6 separate regions of the Homo sapiens genome follow, and regions 2, 3, 4, 5 and 6 are each linked to region 1. The links are contacts of gene promoters, found by promoter capture Hi-C in blood cells and fetal thymus (Javierre and others, 2016). All regions are on one chromosome and are shown on one strand. The core of a region is centred on a gene start or on the middle of the fragment in contact, and the rest is flanking DNA. Distances in the headings are between cores, read along the strand shown. Region 1 holds the start of FANK1 (fibronectin type III and ankyrin repeat domains 1). Region 2 has its middle 2.6 kb from the start of HMX2. Region 3 overlaps PTPRE (protein tyrosine phosphatase receptor type E). Region 4 overlaps MKI67 (marker of proliferation Ki-67). Region 5 holds the start of AS-PTPRE (lncRNA antisense to PTPRE protein-coding gene). Region 6 has its middle 9.8 kb from the start of MKI67.

Evidence for each region. Contacts are between HindIII fragments. The CHiCAGO score rates a contact against its expected background, and 5 or more counts as called.
Region 2: a fragment that was not itself captured here is called in contact with the fragment with the promoter of FANK1 in region 1 in 1 of 17 cell types (monocytes); the score reaches 5.9 in monocytes.
Region 3: a contact is called between a fragment that was not itself captured here and the fragment with the promoter of FANK1 in region 1, in 1 of 17 cell types (naive CD8 T cells). The highest score is 8.6, in naive CD8 T cells.
Region 4: a fragment that was not itself captured here is called in contact with the fragment with the promoter of FANK1 in region 1 in 1 of 17 cell types (naive CD8 T cells); the score reaches 6.0 in naive CD8 T cells.
Region 5: a fragment that was not itself captured here is called in contact with the fragment with the promoter of FANK1 in region 1 in 4 of 17 cell types (naive CD8 T cells, total CD4 T cells, non-activated CD4 T cells and 1 more); the score reaches 10.8 in naive CD8 T cells.
Region 6: a contact is called between a fragment that was not itself captured here and the fragment with the promoter of FANK1 in region 1, in 2 of 17 cell types (naive CD8 T cells and activated CD4 T cells). The highest score is 9.0, in naive CD8 T cells.

Annotation. Positions count from the first base shown.
Region 1 is chr10:125,894,873-125,899,295 of GRCh38, reverse strand. It overlaps FANK1 (fibronectin type III and ankyrin repeat domains 1), which reads right to left and starts at 2,732. Exons shown (of 11, transcript NM_145235.5): 1 at 2,641-2,732. The coding sequence starts at 2,653. It also overlaps a transcript of DHX32 not described here. RefSeq lists silencers at 2,162-2,456, 2,548-2,687, 2,848-2,927, 3,148-3,227. The HindIII fragment of the contact is 2,086 bases long and covers 1,640-3,725 here.
Region 2 is chr10:123,143,233-123,147,895 of GRCh38, reverse strand. No RefSeq gene overlaps it. Among named protein-coding and RNA genes, the nearest start is that of HMX2, 2.6 kb to the left of the region's middle. RefSeq lists an enhancer at 4,169-4,663. The HindIII fragment of the contact is 2,307 bases long and covers 1,050-3,356 here.
Region 3 is chr10:128,040,451-128,044,878 of GRCh38, reverse strand. PTPRE (protein tyrosine phosphatase receptor type E) reads right to left here. Exons shown (of 21, transcript NM_006504.6): 3 at 3,889-4,004. The coding sequence starts at 3,997. Among named protein-coding and RNA genes, the nearest start is that of AS-PTPRE, 20 kb to the left of the region's middle. The HindIII fragment of the contact is 2,625 bases long and covers 1,072-3,696 here.
Region 4 is chr10:128,113,683-128,118,476 of GRCh38, reverse strand. MKI67 (marker of proliferation Ki-67) reads left to right here. Exons shown (of 15, transcript NM_002417.5): 6 at 1,941-1,986; 7 at 2,470-3,549. Among named protein-coding and RNA genes, the nearest start is that of MKI67, 10 kb to the left of the region's middle. The HindIII fragment of the contact is 1,876 bases long and covers 913-2,788 here.
Region 5 is chr10:128,058,269-128,062,639 of GRCh38, reverse strand. It overlaps PTPRE (protein tyrosine phosphatase receptor type E), which reads right to left. Exons shown (of 21, transcript NM_006504.6): 8 at 1,625-1,701; 9 at 925-961. It overlaps AS-PTPRE (lncRNA antisense to PTPRE protein-coding gene), which reads left to right and starts at 215. Exons shown (of 3, transcript NR_136150.1): 1 at 215-513; 2 at 1,796-1,953; 3 at 4,271-4,371. RefSeq lists enhancers at 92-141, 1-672. The HindIII fragment of the contact is 2,124 bases long and covers 922-3,045 here.
Region 6 is chr10:128,133,813-128,138,618 of GRCh38, reverse strand. No RefSeq gene overlaps it. Among named protein-coding and RNA genes, the nearest start is that of MKI67, 9.8 kb to the right of the region's middle. The HindIII fragment of the contact is 242 bases long and covers 2,913-3,154 here.

The DNA of each region.
Region 1 (4,423 bases), core at 1,483-3,982:
CTGAAGTTAGGAGTTCAAGACCAGCCGGACCAACATGGAGAAACCCCATCTCTACTAAAAATACAAAATTAGCCAGGCATGGTGGCGCATGCCTGTAATCCCAGCTACTTGGGAGGCTGAGGCAGGAGAATTACTTGAACCCGGGAGGCGGAGGTTGCAGTAAGCCAAGATCACATCATTGCACTCCAGCTTGGGCAACAACAGCGAAACTCTGTCTCTAAATAAATAAATAAATTAGCGGGGTATGGTGGCACACACCTGTAGTCACATCTAGCCAGGAGGCTCAGGTGAGAGGATTGCTTGAGTCCAAGAGTTCGAGGGTGTACTGAGCTATGATCGCACCACTATACTCCAGCCTGGGTGACAGAGCAAGACCCTGTCTCAAAAAAAAAAAAAAACAACAAAACTTGAGCTAAATGGTGATTGAATTATTTAAAATTAAATTGATGAAATAATTTAAGAATATGTGGAAAGAAAGAAATTTACAGTCATTCCTCAGGTATAAATTAAATATTTTCCACCTCAAAATCCAATGACATGAGATATAAATGTATAGTTCACATAAGTAATACATTTCTCACATGGTTACAGAACCTTTCTGATCAGGCTCCGGTTGAATTTTCCAGCCTTATCTCATTTCTCCTCCCTCCTTCCAACCCTGTTTTTTCCTCCTCCTCTCCTTAGCTACAGCTTTACTAATCTTCCTACCGTGAGCCTCAAACCCACGCTGCTCTCAGGTCTCAGGGCCTATGTACAAGTAATTCCCACTGCCTGGAATCCCTTGCCCTCATTCTTTGCTGGGTCATTCTGCAGACCCAGTACTACTTCCTCTTGGGAGCCTTTGTCCATCTCCTCTTCCCCCAATCTCCGAACCCCACCAAGACCTCAGGAGTTCTTGAGCAAGCCTCTGCTTAGTTTTCCTGGGATGACCAAAACTAACACTGTCCGATCCGTTGTTCAATCCTCAATCCCTAGAACAGAGCTGCAACATAACAGGCACTATAAATGAATGAATGGATAAAGACAGCACTGAAGAACTTGAAATTATAGTTTACACATGAAAACAGTAACATAAATCTGAAGAAATAAAGTTCTTTTTTTTGTTTTTTCGAGATGGAGTCTCGCTCTGTCACCAGGCTGGAGTGCAGCGGTGCAATCTGGCCTCACTGCAACCTCCGCCTCCCGGGTTCAAGCGATTCCCCTGCCTCGGCCTCAGCGTCCCAAATAGCTAGGACTCCAGGCACGCGCCACCACACCTGGCTTTTTTTTTTTTTTTTTTTTTTTTTTTTTTTTTTTTGTATTTTAGTAGAGATGGGTTTCACTATGCTGGCCAAGATGGTCTCAATCTCCTGACCTCGTGATCCGCCTGCCTCAGCCTCCCAAAGTGCTGGGATTACAGGCGTGAGCCACCGGGCCAGGCCAAGTTGCTGTTTTTAAAAGGTATATTTCAACTCACTTCTCTAAGGCGGGAATATACACAGCCTGCCATCAGTTTGACATAAAACAAAAATTTTAGCGTTCTTGTATGCTAAATTTCTTTTACTAGGTTAAAAAAATGTAGAATCCAAAGAGCTGTAAATGCAAATGACAAATACTGTACAAAATCTATCAAGCAACTATAAGTCACAACTTGCAAGCTTTCTCCTCAGCAAATGAGTTAAAAGGAAAAGTATTTGAAACTTTCTTGGTGGAAAACGAATGACCTTTAAAAATGCCAACATTTTCCCCAGAGAATAGATTTGGTCTGAGTTCTTCATTTCTGAAATTGTACAAGATAAGACGACTTGGTTTGAGAGTCAAACTGCATCCTTCTATAAAGGTTTTAGATAAATTTTAAGTCTCCATACAAAACACTCCCCTTATTTTGAGAACAAAAGGAACAATAAGACAGCTTAGGCGGGGCAGAGAAAGAAAGGCCTTGAAACAAAGTCCCTGGAAAGGTAAAAACAACAACAAAAATAGTAAGTTAGAGCTCGTGTTTAGATCTGATAACTCAAAACTGCACAACTTTTGCCATACATCGAAAGCAACATGGGAAAACAGAAAAAGAGATTACAAACATTTTTTGAGTGTCCTAACTTGTAGAACCCCTAAGAATGAATCAAATACACTTGGACAAAGCTCTTCTTTTCTCTCTCTCTCCTTCAAGTCGCAGACTAGGGGTGTGGGGCGGGGGGCGGGGAGTAAGACGGGGTCTCTAATAAATACAAGACCCAGCCTCGGACGTGTTTAATTGCTGACATTTTAGAAGAAAAATGGGCTACTTACAATTAATGAACCAAACTACCAAACTAAAATCATGAGTAGGAGGAGGAGTAAATGGAACCGTCCGGGCGAAGTTTCAGGAAGACGCACGCTGGGGTCGCTGCGCCCTTCCCCACCCATACCTCGGGGCTCTCCAGTCGCTCCCAGCCCCCAGCGCGGACTCTAGGGCGCCGGCGGCCCAACCATACAGACTTGGCAGGATGTAGCCCCCTTCTCCCCTCTCCAGGAGAGAAAAGCGCGAGGAGACGCAAACCGTATTTCCGTGTCCGAGCGTTGAAACCTGCGGAGTCGCGCGCGGGGCGCCCACACTCGTTCCCGGGGAGCCCCAGCCCGGTCGCCCGCCCCGGTCCCAGCTCCAGCCCGGGCCTCCCTTACTCTGGGGCTCCATGGTCGGCTGCTCCCCGGCCTCCGCGGGCGAACCCCCGGACTCCTAACGCCTCTCAGCCAGGGCCGGCGTCGCTACGGTTGCCCTGACAACCCGGAGGCGAAGTGGGCAGAACTAAAGGGACGGCGAGCGGGAGGGACCAAAAGCCGCAGGAAGTGAGGGAGCGCGTGAGGACCCGCGCGTCGCCGGGGACACTGAGCGAGGGTAGCGGCCAGGTCACCGGCTGAGGACACTGCTCCTGAAGCCCGGTCAGGCGGTCGCGCCCTCCCTGGCGGCCCCCGCGGCCCCGCAGGACCTGTGCCCCGACGTCGCCGACCCGCGGTCCCCGCTGTCGCCGACCCGCGGCGTCCGTCGGGCGAGTGGGCCTGCCCGCGGGTAAGGCGCCGGCCCTGGGCCGCCCTCCCGGGAATCGGGAGCCGCCGCTGCAGGTAACAGCGGGGCCCCGGCGGCGGAAGGGGTCGGGGGTCGGCGCAGGGGCGGGCGCGCCCCGAGCCGGGTGGGCGGCCCCGGCGCACCTGTTGTAGCCGCCTGGGGGTCCCCTGCCCGCAGTTGGCCGTGGACGTTCCCCGCCCCGACTCCGAAACGCCGAGGGCGGCCTCCGCGCCTCCTGCTCCGGGAGCCGCGCCTCAGCGGGAGGACGGAGCCCTGCGGGCAGCCCTCGCACCAGGGGCTCCCTCCGAGCCCGGGCATGGGCCGGGCCTGGGGCGGTCCCTCGAGCCCCCCTGACGGGAAGCGTGGAGCAATGCGAGCCGCCGCCGTCGTCGCTGTCGTCCCCAGTGAGCCTGGCGCGTCTCCTGAATCGCGAGAGCCAGGAGCACGGTTTTGCCCGGCTTTGCCCCGTCATCCCCGTGTCCCATTTCAGGCAGGGGGCCCGGGTTGGATCTTTCTCGCTGGCTTCGTTTTTTGTGTGTTGATTTGTTTCAGTCCTTCGCGTTTCCGGTTGAGTTACGGAATCTGCCCACACGTTTTGTGGCCAAACTTTGTAGGGCTGTGAAACAATGTAACATTATCCCACACAATAGTCTTTCATACTGGTTTTAAAACACAGTGATTCAGGGTTTGCTTTAAGGAAGCTTTGAGGATCACAAGAGATTATTATCTGGTAGGTTGTAAAAATTCAAACAACCAGGAGAGTATCATAGGTTCCGGAACACCAGAAGGAGGAAAGAAAAATGGAGACGAGAGAAAAAGGATAAGCAAGAAAGTGCAGGGGCATTAAGGGTGTGGGGGGCTGCAGGATTGATTTGGTATTCAGGTCTGGAGATTATGGCCCCTCTATTAATTCCAACCGCTGCTCCAGACAGTACTTGAGGGAAATGGAAGGAAGAGCCGTTTTGGGGGTCATGGAAGTGATTACTAATCTTGCCAGTAGAAAGATTTCCACTCCATGGATGACAAGGACACTAAGGAGAATTACTTTCCTCTTAGGGAATCATTGAGAGGTTAATTGAACTTGAGAAGCATATATTCTGTGATGGAAACTGACATTTATTATATTCTTCCAAATTAGGTTTTCCCCCTCTCAGACTATATGGGGACTTTTTCAGATTAATTGTCAAAACAAGAAGGTTTATGTGTGGATATTGACAAGCAGCGTGATATATACAGAACACATAATTCTTAAGCTGAAGTATTAAGGTAATAAATTAAGGGTGGAAAGTAAACACTTCATGGAACCTTAACTCCCTGTTCCTGAAATTTAGAGACAGGGGCTTCATTTTTAGACAGAAAGTATAAAGATCAGCAGTACTCCTGTATCCAGTGGTTCTCAAG
Region 2 (4,663 bases), core at 954-3,453, 2.8 Mb after region 1:
CCGGGTTCCTGGCGGCTGCGGCAACTCCGACTCCTTGGACCCCTTGGACCCTTCTCTCCAGAGGCAGGGGCGGTGCGGGACTCGGAGCTGGAGTGGCTCGACGCCTCCGCAGGCGACGGGTCTCCGCGCCTCCCAGGGGCTTGTACAGGCTGCTCCACCATCCTCCCCCAGCCCTCCACCCCTTCTAGCCCCAGTGGGCGGGCAAAGCCGGCACTCCTGGGACCGTGGCGCCCTGCGTGGGGGTGAGGTGGGTTAGGAGCAGGCGTCTCCAGGCGGACGCTCATCCTCTCCAGCATGGCCAGGAGCCTTGGGAGCAGACATTCCCCTTCCCCGTCTGCAGACCTCATCCCTGTCACAGGTTCTACGGACCTACAGAATCTTTAGGGGGAGGGAGGAAGCCCTAAGACCTCTAGTCAAGAGATCTGGGTTCAAATTCCGGCACAACTATTTACACACTGCATGAACTTGCACAACTCATGCCGATTAAAGCCTCTCTGCCCTCATAGTTGAAAATAACTTCTCGGATTGCCTCAGGTAGGGATTAAAAGCCTCGAAGCACTAGCAGCGCATAGTAGGTACTCCATAAACCTGGCCGGGTAGCCCATGGCCCACCCGTGTTTTAAGCGAATCTGTGTTTTTGTTTTGTAAATTTTGAAGGTTTCCGAACTGCTGCAGAAATAGACGCCTTACTCCCAGGAAGAAGATAAGGAACTGGTGACAGGACTCGGTTTTAGAATTGAGCAGACTCGACTCAATTCTCGGCTGGGTGATCTTGGGGGAAGACATTTGGAAATTCTGAGGCTCGGTTTCTTTATTCCTAAAATTGGAGGAAGCAGTGCCTCCCTCGCAGAGGCTGTTGTGAGGTCAAACTACCCAGCACCGAGCCTGGCACACCGTGGTGCTCAGTAAATAGTGATTCCCTCTGTGTTCTCATAGCCCCCTTCTGTGCCCTGGCTCTCGCCCCTTTAATTCCTAGATCAGCTGTTACCCGAGCTAGAATTAGCCCAGCCAAGCAAAGCGGTTTGGGGCCACAGTCGTCTGCACAAGCTTCCTGGAAACTGAAGTGAGGCAAGGCCCGAAGTGCTCAGGCAACCCCGTCCCCTCAAGCTGTGACCTCTAGACCTCTTGGCCAAGAGATTCCAGAAGCCCTGTCTTTAGGGTGCCCCCCAAGTGCAGCCAAGGGTGAGTGGAGACTCTGGAATCAGTCCCCACAAATGTCCAGACACTGCATGACTGTGCAGTTCCTTCCTCGCCTGCACCGCGCCCGGGTTATTAAGTAAAGCGCTTATAATATCATTAGCCGCGGTGAGTTACCGACTGCGGCCCTGCCCGTGGCAGAACTCTTCCCTACTTAACTCCTCGAGGGGCTCGTTAATGGGCTAATTGATTAGGAGTCGGCCGCGCAGCCGGGGCAGGGGCAGGCGAGGGGGCGGGGGCCAGGGGGTGCGCGCAGCGGCCCGGGAGGCCAGCGAGGGGCAGGTGCCGGCCTCCGTCACCGCATTAACCTCTTCAGGGCTCAGCGGCAGGGTCGAGACACATTACAAATGGTCAGCTTTAATCATGGTGTCAGCTCATTAACCCGGAAGGACCTGGCGCTGAAATACAATTTGTGCGTTCTCCTCTGCGCCGCGGCGGCGCAGGCTCCTGGGCCACGTCGCAGCGGGTCCCGCGTGCTCCCGCGCTGTTGGGGGGTACGCGGGAGGTTCAGCGAAAGAATCGTCGGATTCTCACTAACCATCCGCTTCTCGCAGACATCCTGAGCTAGGCGCTGCCTCCGGAGCCAGGGTCAAGGCAGCCCCGAGGGGAACTGGCCAGCTAACTCGGGGAGCAGTGCCAGCCACCCCGCTGGGGAAGAAAGCTGGGGGCAGGCAGGGAAAGTTGGTCGAACCTTCCTGAACTGTAAATATGTCGTGCGGGGAACATGCTGGAAGCTCCCCAGCATTCTTCGCTTTAATCCTGATGGCAAACAAGTGACACAGATCTATTCACTCAATGTACAGGCCGGGAAACTGAGGCTCAAGAAAACAAGAGACTAGCCCAGGCAGACAAAGCAAGACTCGTGCTCAAGGTTGTTCCACTGCCAATACATCACATTTGGGAGGAGGGAGAGAGGAGCAGACACAGGCATTGAGCTTGGAGGATGGCTGCGGGGAAGACTGTGAGGATCCTGCTGACTCGGGATGGCGGGGGCGGGTATATGGGTGGGGCAAGAGCCCAAGGAGTGATCTCTGTCAGATCAGGGGACCTCGAAGTGGGCCTCGGAAAAGCAACTCCCAGGCCCTGAAACAGTGAGAGACTGGGGAGTCGACCCTTGCAAGAAGCCTGGCTTGCGGACTCTAAACAAGGAAGTTATGAAGCCTTGCGTCCCTATCTCTCCTTCCCCTAGGGATAGTTTGGGAAGTCAAAAAGATCCATCTTGCCTTGTATTTCCTCTGTCCCGTCCCTCTAATCGCTTCGAGGGTCTGATCTTCACCGAGGCACTTCCTCTGCTGCCACACCCGGCAAAGGACGCATTAATTCGCATGAAGGCACTTGCATAAACGCCTGCGCACACTCACACATTCATTCAGCAAACGTTCACTGAGCTCCTACTAGTGCGTGCACTTTACCAGGGAAGAGATGGTGGTGGGCACGGGGCTGGGGCAAGGAAGGCTGTGGTGGAGACCCAGCTCTGCAGCCTGACTGACTGCAGTTCCCCTGAGCTCCCCTCGATTGATAGCCCGAGGGACCTCCCGCCCCTCCAGCACCTATAGCCGTCACACCGCAAGGACGGGAGGGACAAGAAACAACCTTCCTTGCCGCCCCTTTCTAGCATATGGGGATCTTCACCGGGAGCACGGAGGCCCAGACGCCCTCTCCTGGGCCCAGTGTAGCTACAAAACTCACTCCCAGGAACACTCAGTTCCTGGAACCACCACCCACAGACACCTCATGTCTCTCCCCTAACGAGTGGCAATCCTTCAACTCAGTACTATCCCACACCCCGCCCACCTCCCTAGCCTTGGGATAGCTCCGCCCAATCCTACTCAGTTTAATACCCACACCTTGGAGGATGGCCCCTCTGCATCTTTGGGATCGACCCCCTGTCTCCCTCTCCTAGGAATTAGGCATAACCAGGTTCCAAGGAATGATAAACTTTCTGAGCCTGAAAGAACGCTTAAAGTTTAGGTCCCGAGATTATGCCACTGCTCAATATTAAAGCGGCCCAGAGCAAACTTGCCGAGGATCCTAATAAAAATTGATCCTCTCTGCTCTGCGGCAGTTGGGAAATAGGCTGGCTGAGCCGGGTAATAGAAGAAGGCTCCCTCCGAAATGACAGATGAAGTCATAAACAAGTTTGATCTTGGAATCAAGCTTCGATAAATATTAAACACAGTCTGCCCCCCCGCCCCCACGCGAGTGGATTATGATATATGGCGCGTCCAAACTTTAAAATAAGGAAATACCAGAGAAAATGATCTCAATAAATTTTCTAAGTATAAACGTTGATTATGTTTCGATTTTCGTTCAAGGGCCTCTGCTGTTCGTTCTTTGGTGCAAATGACATCTCACAATAGGCTTTTGGGGAAAAGGGCTCCCTATTTGAAAAAGAGAGCCCCAGAGGTGTACAATTTATGTAATCTGCTGCTGGAAAATGAATTGTGTAATTTATTGGAAAACAGAAAGTCATGAAGATTGGATCAGCATAGCCGAGTCCCGACACTCTCCACCCCCCTCCCCACCCCCCCACATCCATCAAGTTCCAATTAACAGCCTAACCAGAGAGCTTTAATGGGTTTCCAATCTAGTGGCCTGATAGACTCATCAATTCCTCTGGGAGAAATTAAGAAAATCGACCGCCCCTTGGCGACGCAGTGTCATTCCTTTCTGCAACTATATGTCAAATTAAAAACACAATTAAAATTTAAACTGTTTCAATCAAAGGGTGCCCTGCAACCTATGTTTCACTTAATAGAACTTTGATGAAAATCTGATGCGTGCACTCCATCACCAACGGGGGCGAGGGCGGTGAAGGAGCTCACGAAAGAAGGGGATTCTTTATATTTCTTTAAGACATTAGCGCTTGGGTGAGGCACAGCAGGTGACTCCACCTCACCGCTCCTGCCTCAGTGATAGGCGCAACGCGCTCTCTCGCTGGCTCTATACCTCTCCCAGGCCTAAACCCAAAGGGATCCTTTTGGAACCCCGGCAACTCAGACTTTGGGAAGTTTCCCCCGGAGATGCATCGCCAGGAGCAGCAGCCAAGGAAGAGATCTGCGCTAGTACAACTCATGCGCACCTCCAGGGGACTCTCGGAGAAGGCGCGCTGCAGTCTCCAGCTATCCCTTCCCTCGGGTCTCCAGAACCGCCCCGTCGCTGGAGTGATACCCTTAGGGGTCCTGGAAATGGAAGGGTGGGGAGGAATCCCAGGCGCATACATGGGCCCCAGTGAGGACGAGGGTTGTGTTTCTATCCAGGACCCGATTACCCACCTCAGCCTATGCTCCCCACCTCGTGCACCTTCAGGGTACTCCGCCGGAGAGACACACCGGGGACAAGTGCAGCCCAAATCTCAACCCCAGACTCCGATCGGAGACACCCGGCAGGGCTCAAAAGTACATCCCGCCTAGTTGTTCTCGTGGCTCTTTCCTCTCTTCCGCCATCCTTCCTCCGCTCCCCAGCC
Region 3 (4,428 bases), core at 1,135-3,634, 2.1 Mb before region 1:
AAGAAATTCAATTTAAAAACATTTTTTTTAAATGGTGTGGACCAGGAAGAAAACAAAAATATGTCCTCTGGGCACCAATGTGGTCCAGCCAGGAGTCAGGGAGTCATCTGAGAAGAAATTCCTGTCACAGTTTATTTTCATTTCATGTTATTGTGGCTCTGACGGGGTGGGACAGAGGTCAGGGTGGCCAGTCCCCAGGGTGGTCATCCTGAAGCAGCCTTCTTCCTGTATGACTGTCTAGCTATTGCCCAAAGTGAAGTGTGTGTATGTTCACACCAATTTTATACATACATACACTTGCAACTTGTGTGTGTGTGTGTTTGCTTACATAGAATCTGATCCTGAAAGTTGAAAACCTTAGGCTTGAATGTGACTTTGGAGGAGACAAAGAGAATGGCAACCTTGGCTGGAGTGTAGCCACCCAGCACCCTCTGCTCAGGAAGCTGATCCTGAGCTCTGGCCAAGAGCCGGGGTCTTCCAGGGACTACCTCAGTTCTGCCCCAGGGCACAGCTGCTCTCACTGTGTCCCCTATCTTATCTCCATCCCTCTTTTCCTCTCCCACCTTCATTCCAAGCCCTCCTTCCCCAGGGGCCCTAGAGGCGGAGCAAGTCCATACTGAAAAGATGTGGCTCACTCAAGGACAGGTGTGCAGACAATGGTTTAAGGTCCCAACTCACTCCGGCCTAAAATTTTCAATGTTCAGGAACCTGTTCTCTTTGCCAGAGTTAAACATAATTAAGATTTCAAAGCGTATCTTTCCTGACATTTTCTTCTATAAATTTACGTTCATAAATATGCAGGTTTGGGAAATAAATAGACCATACTACTCCTCTCGTTTCATCTACAGCTTCACGGACTGTAAAAAGTATCGTTATTTTAAGAACCACTAAGAAAGAAAAAAAATGATACTGATTATAATTGTGAAGTGCTACCAATTTTAAGACACGTCCCCATATAGCCACATTAAATATGAAAGAAACAGATGAAATGCACCACGGGGCAGTTCTCCAGCTTGCTTTTCTGGTACGGCTGTCTGTCTTGGAGAGTTTCCATGTCAGCCCAGATAAGCTTCCTCATTCTGTTTAATAGCTGCTTGGATTCCACTTTTTGGATAGACCAAAATAGGATGGACATTTAAGTTGTTTCCAACTTTTCTGCTATTACCTACAATTCTGCAACACACACACACACACATATATATCTTTGTGTCTCGCAAGTGTTTCTGTAGGACAGCTTCTGTGTTAGCCTGTACGCCTGTTACATTTTAACACAATTGCCAAGATGGCAGCCCCAAGTGTCCAACTTCTACATTCATCCACAGCGGAGGTCTCTAACTCCCCCAGGACACAGATGGATATCAGTCTGTGGCCTGTTAGGAACTGGGCCACACAGCAGGAGGTGAGTGGCAGGTGAGCAGGCATTATCGCCTGAGCGCCGCCCCCCGTCAGATCAGCAGCGGCATTAGATTCTTACAGGACCGTGAGCCCTATTGTGAACTGCGCATGCCAGGGATCTAGGTTGCGTGCTCCTTAAGAGAACCTGATGCCTGGTGATCTGTCACTGTCTCCCATCACCCCCAGAGGGGCCGTCTAGTTGCAGGAACACAAGCTCAGGGCTCCCACTGATTCTACATGATGGTGAGTTGTATAATTATTTCATTATATGTTACAATGTAATCATAATAGAAATAAAGTACAAAATAAATATAATGCACTTGAATCATCCCCAAACCACCCCCCACCCCAATTCCACGGAAAAACTGTCTTCCATTAAACCAGTCCCTGGTGCCACAAAGGTTGCGGAATGCTGCCCATAATGTGCGATGGAGCCAGTTTCTCTTCTCTGGGATATTTTGCCAACCCTTTGCATTTTGGTCCATCTGATAGGTAAAATGATAATGTCATTTTAACTTGCATTTCTCTAATTTCTAGAGAGTTGAGCATCTTTTCATGATTAGTGAAACATAATTAGATATTTGTATTCTACCTGGTCATATTCTCTACTCATTTTTCGACTGTGTTCTTTTACGTATTATTTTTTATAGATAACATTTTATTACATAATTTGTAAACATTTACCTTCAATTCCTTCTGTAAAAGAATTTGTCTGCATGAGTACTGAATATATTTTGTTCGATGAACAAATGAAACAGCTTCCTATTATTTTGGCACACTGTGGAAACGTGTTATCATCTGAAATGGTCCTTCATACTTCTTCCAGGGGTCAGATGAAGATTTAAAGGGCACTTCACAGGGTCAGGTTCCCCTCCACAATTCTAGGTCAAACGAGCCCGTCTGCGCCTTATAACCCGAGGCCCATTTCCCTCTTGCTCGTGGACCAGCAGCCTTGCTAAGCACGCAGAGGCCCTGGCAGAGGCTGGACCAAGGTGTGAGTTTCACATTTAGTTCTGCTCTGGGTGCTGAGGTCACATGACAGTGTCCTCCTCCTGCAAGTAACACCCCATGTCTATGGCAATATGTGAGCCCAATAATTTTGTTTTCAAATAAACTGAAAAGCCTCAGATGTGGAGTGGACGTCATCCTGCCGGTGCCCACAGTGCCACCCGAGGGACTGTCTGCAGAGCTCGGGCAGATTCTTCCCCACTGTTGCGCAAACGGATGTTCTGCCATTGTGGCTCCTGGATGTGAGGGTACATCCGGGCAGTTTGTCAGATGTTTCTACGTGGCCAGTCGATTAGCGTTGGGAAGAAAAGTCGGGATTGTGGGTTGAAATAACTCTTTGAACCACCAGTGACCTGCCCCTGAAAGGCTGGCTTGCAAAGAGGCAAGTTAATATTTGCGGGCAGCTTCTGGTCTCTCATTTTTGGGGTTTTGGATTTCTCTGAGGTTTCAACATGAAGAGGAAAAAGACAGGTGGGCGCTCAGAACTGCTCTCCTTGCTAGAGGTTCTGTCACCAGAAATCTTTACTCTTTCCTCCTCCTGGGGCCAGTGGTACATTTGCAGGACATTTGTCCAGGGTTTGCAGGACATTTGTCCAGGGTTAGGGAATCATGTGGGGCTCTTGATGTGACTTTGTTCACAAGCCCCCACCCCCACTTCCCTCTTGCTCTTTTCTGCATAAAGCCCAGACATCACAGTTCACTCGTGAACCCTTCAGCAGGCATGTCAAAAGGCAAGGACTCTTCTTTTTAAAAATAAAACTAACCATGACGCCAATATCTGACCTAAAATATTAAGAATAATTCTTTTTTTTTTTTTTTTTTTTTTTTTGAGACGTAGTCTCTGTCTGTTGCCAGGCAAGAGTGCAGTGGCACAATCTCAGCTCACTGCAACCTCCGCCTCCCAGGTTGAAGTGATTCTCCTGCCTCAGCCTCCCGAGTGGCTGGGACTACAGGCGCCCACCACCACGCCCAGCTAATTTTTGTACTTTTAGTAGAGACAGGGTTTCACCGTGTTGGCCAAGATGGTCTCAATCTCTTGACCTCGTGATCTGCCCACCTCGGCCTCCCAAAGTGCTGGGATTACAGGTATGAGCCACCGCACCCGGCCTAAGAATAATTCTTTAGTTCCTATCATTAACTGTCACATCGCCTCATCCATGTATGTTCATGGTTGGTTTTCTGCACAAGGGGATTTTGGGGGATTTTTAACCCTTTTGCACTCCTGCCTCCAGCCAAGGCTGACCCTGACTCTCAGCTGGGGTTGTAGATGGGTCACCTCCAGAACACTAAGCTTTGCTGAACAACCAAATGCTAAACTAGCTTATTTAGCCTGCCTGTTTTTAGAGGCACAAACTATTAAAAGCACACTAAGAAATTCAGCCACACCATTCTTCTCTTACCCTAAGCCCCTTTATCACCCTCTGAATGGTCCCAGGAGCTTAGGAGGAGGTAGTAGGGGAGGCAGCCAGGGAAAGGGGTCCTTACCTGAGGTCGTGGTTGTCTCGTTGCTGTCGGCAGTGGTCTCGTTGCCCCTGAGAGCCCTGGCGAGCGGCAAGCTAAAACCCACCAGCAGGAGTGGACACAAGGGCTCCATGGTGGACCTGCAGAGAGGCAGGGACAGGCTCAGAGGTCATCCAGCAGCAGCTGTGGGACCCTCCGGTGCCAGGCAGTGATGATGAGGAGAAGAGCCAACTTCATTTCAGGGCTTTCTCTGAGCCAAGAACTTTGCCTGTCACTTTCACGGATCATCTCACTGAGGCTTCTCAACACCAGGGGGATACAGTCACTGACTGTGGACATTCACTCAAAGGAGGGAACCAGGACTCAAAGGACCTGCTTGGTTGATGGTTAGTGGGGGCAGATCAGGGACTGGAACCCAGGGTGATCTCATCCCAGACCCCTGCCCTCCCTGGAACCACTTAGCAGAAATCACATCTGGGTGACCTAGCCTGGCATCCTGGACCCTCTACCATCCACCCTCCACTCGCCCTGCTAACTCTACCCCTCCCATTCAAGCCCTGTTCT
Region 4 (4,794 bases), core at 601-3,100, 2.2 Mb before region 1:
AGTTATCTTAGGTGCACCTGAAATTAGCAGTAGGTACTCTTGAATTTCAACATTTCTGCCTTTTTTTTTTTTTTTTTTTCTGAGACGGAGTCTCACTCCGTCACCCAGGCTGGAGTGCAGTGGTGCGATCTTGGCTCACTGCAACCTCCGCCTCCTGGGTTCAAGCAATTCTCCTGCCTCAGCCTCCCGAGTAGCTGGGACTACAGGTGCACACCACCATGCCTGGCTAATTTTTGTATTTTTAGTAGAGACAGGGTTTCACCATATTGACCAGGCTGGTCTTGAACTCCTAACCTCGTGATCCACCCACCTGGGCCTCCCAAAGTGCTGGGATTACAGGCTTGAGCCACCATGCCCAGTCCATTTCTGCCATTTAAGTACTGCCTTCTTCCCTAGAGGAGCAGCCTTAATGTTGAATCTGATGGTCATCAGTTCCCGTGCTGGAAGCCAGTTTCTGAGGCATCCCACACTGTAGCCACCAGGCAACTTGCTAGTCTATGGGAGTAAATAAACCAAAAAGCCAGTTGAACTGTGGGTTAGATATGTGCCACTCAGCAGTCTAGGAACTGTTTGTTCTGTTACTGGTCTGTGATATAGTGAGTACTGAAATGGAGTATGTAGTAAATATGACAGCAATTCGACAGCAATTTTGTGGCTATTGAATGTAATCGTACAACAAAAGTGAGATTATATACTTTACATATTCATAATTTTATTAGTGGTTCATTTATATTGTTTAGTCATAAGATTCTTGTTCCACTTCAGATTGGAAATAAAAAACCATCCCTCACATAGATAGTTTTAGAAGCAAGGTGTTACGTATCAAGAAACCTAAAATTGATTAAGGAAGTTAGATTCTTTGCCTTTGTTAATATTTTTTAGATATTTTCTTAATAATCCAGATGATAAGCTTTTCTTCCTTTGGGGCATCAGACTTTTATAAAAGTTATATATATATGTTATTCTTTAGTTCTTCCACCCTTCCGGAAATAATTCCATATGAAGGAAAGTTAGGGCGCTGTCTCTGGGGAGCCAGGTGGGGGCGCTGCGCCTGCTCCCAGGCTGTGAGGTTGCAGAATCTGTGAATATACCATGTGTGCCTGTACCATGAATTTACCTAGGGTGAATCTAGGCTCTCAGATCCACCCTAAGTATCCACCAGCCAAGAGGGCGCACATGCCAAGTGGAGCCTCAGTTCATCGACAGGTCCTATGGCCCATTTATGAGAAAACTGATGACGCAGTCAGTAGTTCTGAGCTCGTGGGGGGTTACAGATCTTCAGTATAGGTGATGTTTAATATTGACTTTGGTTCTTCCGCAATAGGATGTTGGGAAATATCTTTAAAGGAAGTTATAAAAACACACCGAGGTTTGATTTTAGTAATTTTAAGCCTCGAATTTGTTTCCTATTAATCACTCACTATTTTTTAATGAGTCAGCTAATAAGTACTTTTATCCTGACCACTAGCTCCCAACTGACTTGAGCTCATTTCTCAAACAGTCTTTAAAAGTCATATACGAGTGGTTTGGTAAAGAAAACAATTTTTTATTGTTTTTATTTTTATTTTTTGAGACAGAGTCTCGCTTTATTGCCCAGGCTAGAGTGCAGTGGTGCAATCTCTGCTCACTGCAACCTCTGCCTCCCGGGTTCCAGCAATTCTCCTGCCTCGGCCACCTGAGTAGCTGGGACTACAGGCACCTGCCACCACATCCAGCTAATGTTTGTATTTGCAGTAGAGATGAGGTTACATCATGTTGGCCAGGCTGTTCTCAAACTCCTGACCTCAAGTGATCCGCCCACCTTGGCCTCCCAAAGTGCTGGGATTACAGGCATGAGCCATCATGCCCAGCCAGAAAACAATAAATAATATTTTCACTGTTGTGACTGTCATCATTTAGAAAGACCTGCAAATAACTGTTCTTATTTTCCCAACTTACAGGAGCCAGCACGTCGTGTCTCAAGATCTAGCTTCTCTTCTGACCCTGGTGAGTAGTGGTTGGGTTTTGTTCCAGAATCCTGAAAGATCAGGTCTTTGCGAAGCATATTGGCAAAGAAGGGGCAACAAGAATGCAAGTGCTAAATGTCTAGCCTGTCAGAAATGGAGGAGGTGTCATTTAACATGTCAACGACAGACAGATGCCTAACTTTCCCTTGGTGACTGATGGTATGCTATGCTTAGGAGAGACTCTAGATATGAGAAAATTGCCTGTTCAGCTGTCAACTCAGTTCTCAGTAGTTAGATAGCATGTGCTATTTCATACTGGTTATTGGAGCTGATATGATTTATATATTTGTATCATAATACTAGTATCATAAGACTTGCAAGTTTTAGGCATTAAATAATTTGTAGGCCAAGTAAAAGCTAGCTTATAAGACAACCTGAAACAATTAAAATATTGAATTCCACAAATGTTAATCATTGAGAAAATGCTGAACTTCTGTTTCTTATTTCATAATTCATTGCCAAGATGAGAAAGCTCAAGATTCCAAGGCCTATTCAAAAATCACTGAAGGAAAAGTTTCAGGAAATCCTCAGGTACATATCAAGAATGTCAAAGAAGACAGTACCGCAGATGACTCAAAAGACAGTGTTGCTCAGGGAACAACTAATGTTCATTCCTCAGAACATGCTGGACGTAATGGCAGAAATGCAGCTGATCCCATTTCTGGGGATTTTAAAGAAATTTCCAGCGTTAAATTAGTGAGCCGTTATGGAGAATTGAAGTCTGTTCCCACTACACAATGTCTTGACAATAGCAAAAAAAATGAATCTCCCTTTTGGAAGCTTTATGAGTCAGTGAAGAAAGAGTTGGATGTAAAATCACAAAAAGAAAATGTCCTACAGTATTGTAGAAAATCTGGATTACAAACTGATTACGCAACAGAGAAAGAAAGTGCTGATGGTTTACAGGGGGAGACCCAACTGTTGGTCTCGCGTAAGTCAAGACCAAAATCTGGTGGGAGCGGCCACGCTGTGGCAGAGCCTGCTTCACCTGAACAAGAGCTTGACCAGAACAAGGGGAAGGGAAGAGACGTGGAGTCTGTTCAGACTCCCAGCAAGGCTGTGGGCGCCAGCTTTCCTCTCTATGAGCCGGCTAAAATGAAGACCCCTGTACAATATTCACAGCAACAAAATTCTCCACAAAAACATAAGAACAAAGACCTGTATACTACTGGTAGAAGAGAATCTGTGAATCTGGGTAAAAGTGAAGGCTTCAAGGCTGGTGATAAAACTCTTACTCCCAGGAAGCTTTCAACTAGAAATCGAACACCAGCTAAAGTTGAAGATGCAGCTGACTCTGCCACTAAGCCAGAAAATCTCTCTTCCAAAACCAGAGGAAGTATTCCTACAGATGTGGAAGTTCTGCCTACGGAAACTGAAATTCACAATGAGCCATTTTTAACTCTGTGGCTCACTCAAGTTGAGAGGAAGATCCAAAAGGATTCCCTCAGCAAGCCTGAGAAATTGGGCACTACAGCTGGACAGATGTGCTCTGGGTTACCTGGTCTTAGTTCAGTTGATATCAACAACTTTGGTGATTCCATTAGTAAGTTTATTTAATTGTAAATTTATTTTTCTAAAAGATGAACACCTTCTATGTAGCTGTGAGACCTTCATTCTTTCAGTAGTGATTAGCTTTGTGGAAGAGAATGTAAGCACATAAGGCACAGGGATAAGACAGACACGCACGCTGTTTTCGCTAATAGATGAATACTGAAGGCCTAGGTAATTGTAACAAGGAATGACAGAAGAGATGGAAGTTGTCAGGCAATCATGAAGCAGGGGTTATTGAAGGAGATAGGGTGGCCCCAAAAATATTTGATTCTCCTCCATCTATCACAAAATAGAAAAGAGAATAATCATAATTGCTTTTCACATGGAGTTTAATTCTGAACTACAATCAACTGTATCATATGAGTTTGGTCATGTGGAATAAATCACTGGTAATCATTAAACATAGCGGTAGTTCTCAGGTGTTGATACTCTGTTTTCAGAGTGTCCTACAAACAATTTGCTGTAAACACTGGACTGTACCCATGAGTCCATATGCCACATGAACACTTGATCCTTGGTGCAATAGCAGTGCCCGTGGCTAGGTTGTCTTTTTAGAGCTATGTCACACATGAGGAAACGCACAACCCAAGGCCAGTCAGGAAGTGGCAGAGGTAGGACCTTTATAGCAGGTGTGGTAGCTCCTCGGGAGCTTCCTACACTCCTAGGGACTGGCTATTAGAAGAAAAGTTGTCTGGGCCACAGACGCAGTATTCGTACTCCAGGCTGTGTTTCTGCAGGTGGCCTATAGCGGTGGGGCATGAGGCTGTCGATAAAATAAGGTTTGTAACATCAGTCTCAGTATTCCACCAAGCTTCCTAGTGGGGAAGCATCACTTAGGCAAGGGATTTACATTAACTGGTGGCTCAGGAAAATGTGTGGCCGGGACTGGGCTCCTGTGAATTGACTCAGAACCACCTGGAGGAGTTTTTACAGCTCATGCATTCTGGTCACTGGGTGGCTCAGGCTGAGACCCAAGTGCATGTCTTTAGAGAGTTCTCTGGCTGTCGTCCCCCTACTCTAAGGTGAAATCTGCTGCTGCAGACTCCTCCTTTCTATGTCCACACATAATGTTTCAATGTTTTAAAGAAAGCCTCTGTACTGTCCAGTGGCAACTTGACGTCTTAGTGGCCACTCCCGCAATCCTTTAGGAACTCTTAGTAGCTTAGCTTCACCAGGATTGCAAGAATAGAGGCGTGCTGTAGGTACTGTGTTTCGATGACTTTTCACTTGGTTTGTC
Region 5 (4,371 bases), core at 734-3,233, 2.2 Mb before region 1:
GAACAACAGACAAAGTGTCACTAGGAGAAAGTCCTCTGCCCCTATCCACTTCCTGTCTGAGCTGCGGCTATTTTGCAGTCCCGAGCTAAGTGCTACGTGCTGAGGGGGATGGGCGGGGAGATAAGGAAGCCCCTGGCCCTGCTGCTGTCCTGCCGTGGGCTAGCTCCCTGTGGGTGTCTGCTGGCAAGAGAGAAACACATGCTTTCATCTGCTTCAGCCAGGATCGTCAGGTTTCCTGAGGTTTCCAGCTGGGCACATTCCTGATGGCCTCTGCGTGTGCACATGTGTGTCCTTTTTTCTTAGAGATTCTGCATTTGTAACAACTTCCCAGGTGATTTTGATGGACGCTGACTTTCAGAGCTCATTGCCCTAAAGACTCCTGGCCTAAGAGTGAGGAAGTCTGAGGAATCTGGTTTCAGCTCCACTGATATCTAACCGCACGTACACCAGGTCCTGCAGATGACAACCTCTGGTGGAACGGAGTGATGCTGGATTCAGTACTCAACACACAAGGTAGCCCTGTGCAAGGTGAAGGGCACGTTTTCACAGCTGAAGTATATTCTTAGTTATGGCCTTGATCTGAAAAGCTATTCACCCCACTAACCCCTCGCCCAAACTTGGGGAGCCATGTAGGGCTCAGCCAGCTGAGAGAAATTCAAGGTTATCTGACGCAAGTATTAACAAGCTGGAATGGCAGCCGGGGCCATTGCGTGCCCTGTGTTCACACCATATAGGTGTGGGAATAAGTGTGTGTTTCTCTGACTACACATATCCGTTGTGTGAATGGATATCTAACGTGTCTGTTAGGTGTAAACACACACACACAAATCCAGTATAAGTCCTTGGTCTTGTTGGCATACAGAGAAGGAAATAAGAGCTATTCACGTTACCAAAAATACGTTGAGAAATTAATAAAAAGCTTACCTTGAGCTGCTATGAATTTATTCTTCTCTTTGTAACCCTAGAAAAAATAACATCAGATTTATATTTTTTCAGAATTATCTTTGCTGAAAGGATTTGTTGGTGTTGCTGTTAGGAAAGCAGTACATATTCACCATGGAAAATTTGCAAAACACAGGAAAAGGTTAAGAAGGAAAGAAAACTCACCAGCAATTCCAGAAATAACAAATCCTACTTCATACGTCCCCTCTCTAGTCTGTTTTTCTGCCAAACCTTTCCCAGACTCACCCACAAGCAGACATGCAGACATTTCTGTCCTCTAATTGGGTGAACATGTACAATTTATTTTATGTTGTATTTTTAATGGGAATTTTATAATTGATATTAAATGATCTTTTAAAGATTAATACAAATCAAGTTCTAATAGTCCACTGCACATGGTTTTACCACAATCTGTTTAACTACCCATGCTCCCTGTTCTATTTGGTCAGGAATATACATAATGCTGTAGTGAACATCCTCTGTGATCATCTCTGTCTCTTGAATTCAAATTCCCAGATGCTGATGCCAGTGTGTAAAGCACGGGCAGTTCCGTACCCTTTGTGCTTGTGGCCAAACTGCCCAGAAAGGTTGTGACAATTTACACTCCGGGCACCAGACAAGAAAGTGCTTACTGCTCATGCCCCAGCTGGGCCAGGGGAACAAGAAACCTCTGCCCACTTACATCTATGTAGGAAGCATTGATGTAGTCTGAACAGGGAATTCCATCCAGTTGGCTCAGAATCACCCTAGAATGGTCATCTGGAAAAAAAACCCAAACAAAGCCAAGATATTAGGACCAGGAATCACAGTGCTGTCTCTTCCAGAAATCACAGTGCTGTCTCTTCATCTGCAGTGTCAGCTCCTGGGAAGGGCAAAAGCAGCTTCACAGCGACACCAGGGATGGCAGAGATGTTCTTCCTCAGCGTTCCCATGGAGAACACTAGTGTCCTGAGAGAGAATGCACCTGCTTTGGTGAACACTGACTGTCTCAGCTGTGGCATGACGACAAGGGTAGGATTTCAGCATCCAGGATGGGGGCTGCTGGGTCATTACATAGCAAGAATAGCAGAATGTGCCAGGCCCCTGGCAGTGCAAGGGCTGTATTTTATGAACCCTGCACTGGGCCCAGCCCCAGTGTTGCCAAGTGTGGGTGCACTTAAAAGAGCCCCAGGACAGGAGAACTGGGTCCACTCTCCCAGGCTTCCCAGGGAAATGAGCACCAGCCCCATGAGGACAAGTGGATGTGGGGGTCTAGGATTGGGGACTCTGACCCTCAGTCCCACCACCGGAGTCTGCCCCAGAGCTGGAAGGCGAGCACAGTGAGGAGCGTCTGGTAGATCCAGCCTGTTGCACAAGCAGTTTTCCGGGGTAGAAGGCTGACCGTGGAGTGCTCTGTGTGTGGGGTGTGTGTGTAGTGAGTGTGGTGTGTGTGTATTGTGTGTGTGGTGTGTGTGGTTGTGTATGTGTGTAATGTGTGGTGTGTGTGTGGTGTGTATGGTGCATGTGTGTAGTGTGTGTGGTGTATGTGTGGTGTGCATGTGTGTAGTGTGTATGCTGTGTGAATGTGTGCATGTGGGTTTGGTGTGTATGTGTAGTGTGTGTGTGTGTGTGTGTGTAGTGTGTGGTATGTGTGTGGTGTGTATGTGTGTGGTATGTGTGTGATATGTTTGTGTGGAGTGTGTGGTGTGTGTGTGGAGTGTGTATGTGTGTGCGTTATGTGCGGTGGGTGTGTAGTGTGTGTGTTGTGTGTGTGTGTGTGCATGTAGTGTGTGTGTACACACACGTCAGGGCTCCATCATGACTTTTGTGGGTTGTAGTCACTTCTGCCTTTGCAGCTTCCTCCATAGAACTATTAAGAAGGTTATCTTAGGACTGGGTTGGTCGCCAGTGAAAAGATGCACTCCAGAATGGGTTTTGCACGTTTTGTTTGTGATTTGAAGAGAAATGAAGACATTTTCATGGGCTTCTAAAAGTGCTGTGGGCCTGGCCCTGCTCCTCCTGTAACCTTTCCCAGGAACGTCCGGCTCGGCCAGGCTGGGACCAGGCTGGTTCTGAGGACGTTTATGCTGCACTGGGCACAGAGTCTGGCATGTGGTAGAAGCTTAGGGTCTCCTTCCTGAGTCATTACTGAGTAACTCTAGGTCCTCTCCCTGCTTTCTCTGCTTAGTCTCTGATCAGGGTGGGTTGTGTTTGTGGTGTTTGTGGCGTTTGTGATGGGGAGCCGGGCAGCCCCCAGGTCATGCCTTGTTTGTCTCACCTTCACCTGGAAGGCTGCCAGGTGGGCCACGGGCTGGTGGCCTGCGACCTCCGATGGTTGAGCCAGCTCTGTCGGGCTGCCAGCAGAGAAAGGGCGGGTATAGCTCTGAGAGACAGTCACAGCCCACACAGGGTGGCCAGGGAGTCAGACCCCAAACTTACAGTCCTGCAGACCTCACTGTGAGACCCTCCTGCTCAGGGACTGGCAATGCCCAGGCAGAAATAGCTCTGCTGAACACATATAACACTAGTTGAAAATAATTTGGAATGGTTTACGCTTTGAGGACAGCTATAGAAAAGCACAGGGTAAAATATAGCCTTCTGCTTAGATTTAGAATCTTGCAGTTTCTAAGAGCTTCCTGTCTTTTTATTCTAAAAAGTCACACTTCACATTCAAAACATTATTTCCTAAAATTATCAGCTGTTGGCACTTTTCCAGAAAAGAGGCCTAGCTTGCCATCTTTCTATAGTCTTTCTACAGGCAAAAGTCAAGCCTGCCTGACATGCAAAGCACCTTGACCTCTGACCCCAGAGCTCCCCAGGGCCACATGCCTGCCCAGAGCCAAGGACCATCTTATGACTCTGGTAAAAGACTGGGAAAGGCAGGGAAGGTGCCAGGGGCTGGGGAAGTTGGGTCCCTTCTCTCCTCTCCCCCAGGTGACTCTCAGTCCCACCCTAAGTGATACTAGGGGCTGGGGAAGTTGGGCCCCTTCTCTCCTCTCCCCCAGGTGACTCTCAGTCCCACCCTAAGTGATACTATGGGCTGTCACCCTGGGGGCGGGTGGAGCAGCCCTGAGAGCTCCCTGCCCAATGTCCCTTCAGCCTTAAGTCTTCCTGATGGCTAATGCCAGATGCCACCCCATTGATCCTTGCCAGGCCACAGCGTCTCCATGCCACCATTCTGTAAACCCATCTTTCCACCCATGTGAGAAGTGCCACGTCCTGGTCCCCCAGTCCCGGGCAGCTGCGTGGGCCCTGGGGTTCCCATGGTGTGGTGCTCCTGCCAGGAGCAGGGGAAAGATCTTACAGGGGAATCTAGAAAAGCCCATTCTGAATCTGACTACACTTTCAGGCTTGGAGGAAATGCCAACTGACTCCAGCAGCACAACCTGGAGAACGCGGCTCAGAGAAGACTTGAGAACGTGGCTCAGAGAAGACTTGCAGTGGGTGGGC
Region 6 (4,806 bases), core at 1,784-4,283, 2.2 Mb before region 1:
TGCATTCCAGGCTGGGCGACGTGAGTGAAACTCCGTCTCAAAAAACAAAAAAAAAATCTAGTGAATTTTTTTTTTTTTAGTTTGAAAAATTCATGCAAGGGTAGGCGCAGTGGCTCACCCCTGTAATCCCAGCACTTTGGGAGGCCGAGGTGGGCAGATCACCTGAGGTCGGGAGTTCAAAACCAGCCTGACCAATGTGGAGAAACCCTGTCTCTACTAAAAAAATACAAAATTAGCTAGGCATGGTGGCACATGCCTGTAATCCCAGCTACTCGGGAGGCCGAGGCAGGAGAATCGCTTGAACCCGGGAGGCAGAAGTTGCGGTGAGCCAAGATCAGGCCATTGCACTCCAGCCTGGGCAATAAGAGTGAAACTCCATCTTGAAAAAAAAAAAAAAAGAAAGAAAAAGAAAAATTCATGTATTTGGTTTAGAAGGTGCAATAACCAGACAAAAATCTCCATTCTTTTGGAATAAGGGGAGTGGAATGTGACATCTGCAGCCAGCTTCCTGTAGTGATACATCAACGTTGCAAAGTGCAGATGAAAGAGCAGGGCTTTTGAAAGCCCATTTTTAAAGCTTTTCCTTTCACTTTCTACCTATTGATTAGTTACCAGTTGTTCTCTTCTTTCTACTTGTAGGCCATATTATTTCATTTCCACTCCACAAATCCAACATAGTTAATTGGGTTTGATATTAATGAGCTTGTACAGCTAAAACATGGAAATATAATAACTACTGTTGATCGATCTTTCAGGTAGGTAAAAGCTAATTTTGCAAACAATTAATGTCATATTGTGATTTATCATAAACCACTGAAACAGTTCAACAGTGATCCATCTTTAATGTTGATGAATGTTAACAGATTTCAGATTGTAATTCTCAATACATTTTCCAAATGGAATAGCATATAGACCTAGAATTTGTCAAAAAGAAATAATTTTTCCTCTAGCCTCTTAGAATCAGTGTTTGGAGTCTTGTAAATTAAAATGACAAAAAACTGGCCTGGCCGGGCGCGGTGGCTCACGCCTGTAATCCCAGCACTTTGGGAGGCCGAGGCGGGCGGATCACGAGGTCAGGAGATCGAGACCATCCCGGCTAAAATGGTGAAACCCCATCTCTACTAAAAATACAAAAAATTAGCCGGGCGCGGTGGCGGGCGCCTGTAGTCCCAGCTACTCGGGAGGCTGAGGCAGGAGAATGGCGTGAACCCCAGGGGGCGGAGCCTGCAGTGAGCCGAGATCGCGCCACTGCACTCCAGCCTGGGCGACAGCGAGACTCCGTCTCAAAAAAAAAAAAAAAAAAAAAAAAACTGGCCTAGCACTGTGGCTCACACCTGTAATCCTAGCACTTTGGGAGAAGGAGGTGGGTGGATTGCTTGAGCCTGGAAGATGGAGACCAGCCTGGGCCATATGGTGAATCCCTGTCTCTGGAAAAAAAAAAAAAAAAAAAAGCAAAAATTAGCCCAGCATGATGGCGTGCACCTATAGTCCCAGTTACTTAGGATGCTGAGCTTGGGCCCAGAAGGTTAAGGTTGCAGTGAGCTGAAATCTCACCACTGCACTCCACTCTGGGTGACAGAGTGAGACCCTGACTCAAAAAATAAAATAAATGACAAAAACCAGATTAACAAGAGATTAACAAGAGAAAAGACAAAGTGTATTCATTTTGTTTGTTAATATCCATTCTCAGAAGAGCACAAAGAAAGCAGCCAATAGCTGAAGATAGGGGCTTATCTGTAAACTTCGTAGTCTGATAATGGGGTGAGGATAGGGCATAATTCAGACAAAGCTTCTGTCTGCATTTCTTGATTCTAAAATGTTTTCAGCTCAAAAAATTTTATGCCACTGTGGTATAATTTGGATCCATTCAAAAAATGAGAAATTGGACTTAAATATCAAATTCAAGGATTTGAGTACAGATAACCAGGCCAAAGAGGTGATCTGGTCCTAAAAGAACTTACTTTGTGGAGAAGGCTGAATGTAAAACTCTGCATGAGTCTTATAGTTTCAATTATCAGGAAGCAAACACTCACGTAACTAAACCAAGTCATGAAATAGAACATTTCTTCCAGAGGCTTCTTCCATCCTGTCTTCTAACCGCGACTTCTTTCTCTCATCACAGAGTCTGTCACTGTGGCTTTTATAACATTATAAAAATACTTTGAGTTTTATTTTTATTTTTAAATTTATTTATTTATTTTTTGAGATGGAGTCTCGCTCTGTCACCCAGGCTGGAGTACAGTGGTGCAATCTCCGCTCACTGCAAGCTCCGCCTCCCGGATTCACGCCGTTCTCCTGCCTCAGCCTCCCGAGTAGCTGGGACTACAGGCGCACGCCACCATGCCCGGCTAATTTTTGTATTTTTAGTAGAGACGGGTTTTCACCATGTTAGCCAGGATGGTCTCGATCTCCTAACCTCGTGATACACCCACCTTGGCCTCCCAAAGTGTTGGGATTACAGGCGTGAGCCACCATGCCAGACCTTAAATATTTTTAAATTATTATTATTATTATTTGAGTCTCACTCTGTCACCCAGGCTGGAGTGCAGTGGCACGATCTTGGCTCACTGAAACTTCTTCCTCCTGGGTTCAAGCAGTTCTCCTGCCTCAGCCTTGTGGAGGAATAGTTAAATATTAAATGTGAACTCATTTGGTTGTGGACAGAAACAATGGTCACCAAGTCTCGGAACAGGTTGTGTGAGCCCCTTAAGGCGTTCATCCAGCACTGTTTCAAAGAAATCCCTATTTCAATCTATTCCTATACGTTAGTTATTGAAAAACAATAGATAATTGCAAAAACAAGTTGACCTTTTTGTGTTCCTTGAGCCCCGTCACGAAGGGCCCTCGTAACTGGACCTCATGCCAAACAACTCGTTACAAAAAGAGCTAGGGTCTCAGACCACGCAGAAGCTTCATGAGACCCCTCCTTGTCTGCATGGACAAGTGGTCGACTCTGGATCCCAAGATGTTGCTTCCCAGTTTGGTGGTGAATCCTCCATAGTCTGGTGAGTGTAAGTATCTTTTTCCCTTCTCTTCCCATTGCAATTTGCTTATTGTAACAATATCCTTATTATATTGATTTTCTTATTATATCATTTGCTTATTATGTCATTTCCTTATTATATCTGCATTGCCATTTACATGGGGTAAAGCTTGTTTACCCTTTAAAGTATTGTGTGTGTGCCATTTCTTCTCCCCTCATGCATTTCCTGCACAGAACATCAGCCTTCCCAGTAGCTGGGACTACAGATGCCCGCCACCACAGCTGGCTAATTTTTGTATTTTTAGTAGAGACGGGGTTTCACCATGTTGGCCAGGCTGGTCTCAAACTCCTGACCTCAAGTGATCCTCCTGCCTCAGCCTCCCAAACTGCTGGGATTACAGATGTGAGCCACTGTGCCCAGCCTGAGTTTTATTTTTAAACATGCATCTTTGAACACTATATTTTGTCTGACATTACTAAACTTCACAAAAATTAAATAATAAAGTATGTAATTATGTCCGATGTCTCTAGTCCTTATGAGAATCATAAAATATTGATTGTAGTTGTCATTTGTTTACATTAACTATTTGATTGAAATAATATACCTGCCTGGTGCAGTGGCATATGCCTGTCATCCCAACACTTTGGAAGGCCAAGGATAGGAGGATCACTTGAGGCCCAGGGCTCAAGACCAGCCTGGGCAACACAGTGAGACTCCATCTCTTCAAAAAATTTAAAAATTAGCCAGTCATGATGGTGTGTATTTGTGGTCCCAGCCACTCAGAGGCTGAGGTGGGAGGATCACTTGAGCCCGGGAGTTTGAGGTTGCAGTGGTCTATGATTGTGCCAATGCACTCCAACCTTGGCAACAGAGCAAGACCTTGTCTCTGAAAAAAAAGAAAGGAAGAAAAATAAATAATACACATAATTATACACAATTTTATCGTTCTGGATGGACATTTCAATAGCTTCTAGTTGTTGAAATGTGTTGGCATTTGCTTTGTGATCAGATATGGCTGCAATGTTTACTAATCTGTGTATTATGTGTTTGAAAAGAATGTGTGTTCTACAACTGTTGGTTGCAGTCTTCAATCTATATATGTCAATTAGATTCAAATCTATATTAGTTTTATTTATTTATTATTTCTATTTAGAAGGTACGAGTACTTTGTTTTCAACAAAATTTTTACAATGAATATCGTTCATTTGAAAACATAGCCTTTGTCTCACAAATCATAACCCTTTGTTATTTTTACTATTTGTTATTTTTACTATTTGTGACTGTGTTGCTGTGTGCTACATCTGTCTGTCTGCTGTGAGAGGGATAGTGGTATAAATAAGCCAGGCAACTTCCTGGGGTTTTAATATCCAAGGAACAGAAGGCTGGTCTGGGGTACAAGAAAAACGCTCTGACAGTTTCTCGGGATCGCGTGTCCTGCATATAATAGGTATGGAAATGTCAAATGCACATCTTTACTCTGGAAAGCAGAAGATATGTAGAAACCGGGCAGCTGCCTTATGGTGAGGAAAGCTGTTGCTATTATACCTGCCTGTCTTACTGACTTTATAATAATAGATTGTCCCAGTGTTAAGTAATTGGTTTTGACCACTATTTTGTGTTGTTAAGACGTACTTTCCTTCCAGGGGGCATAGCTGTTTCTGGAAACAACACACTGTAAGATGCTTTTCTTAAACCATTAATAGTCGAGGAAATGTTGCCACTTGAATCTCCATCTCAGTAAAAGTGGGAATTGACGTGGTGATGGTTGTACTGGATTAGAACCATGCCAGGCACCCAGGGTTTGATCTTCCTGGGTTGTATA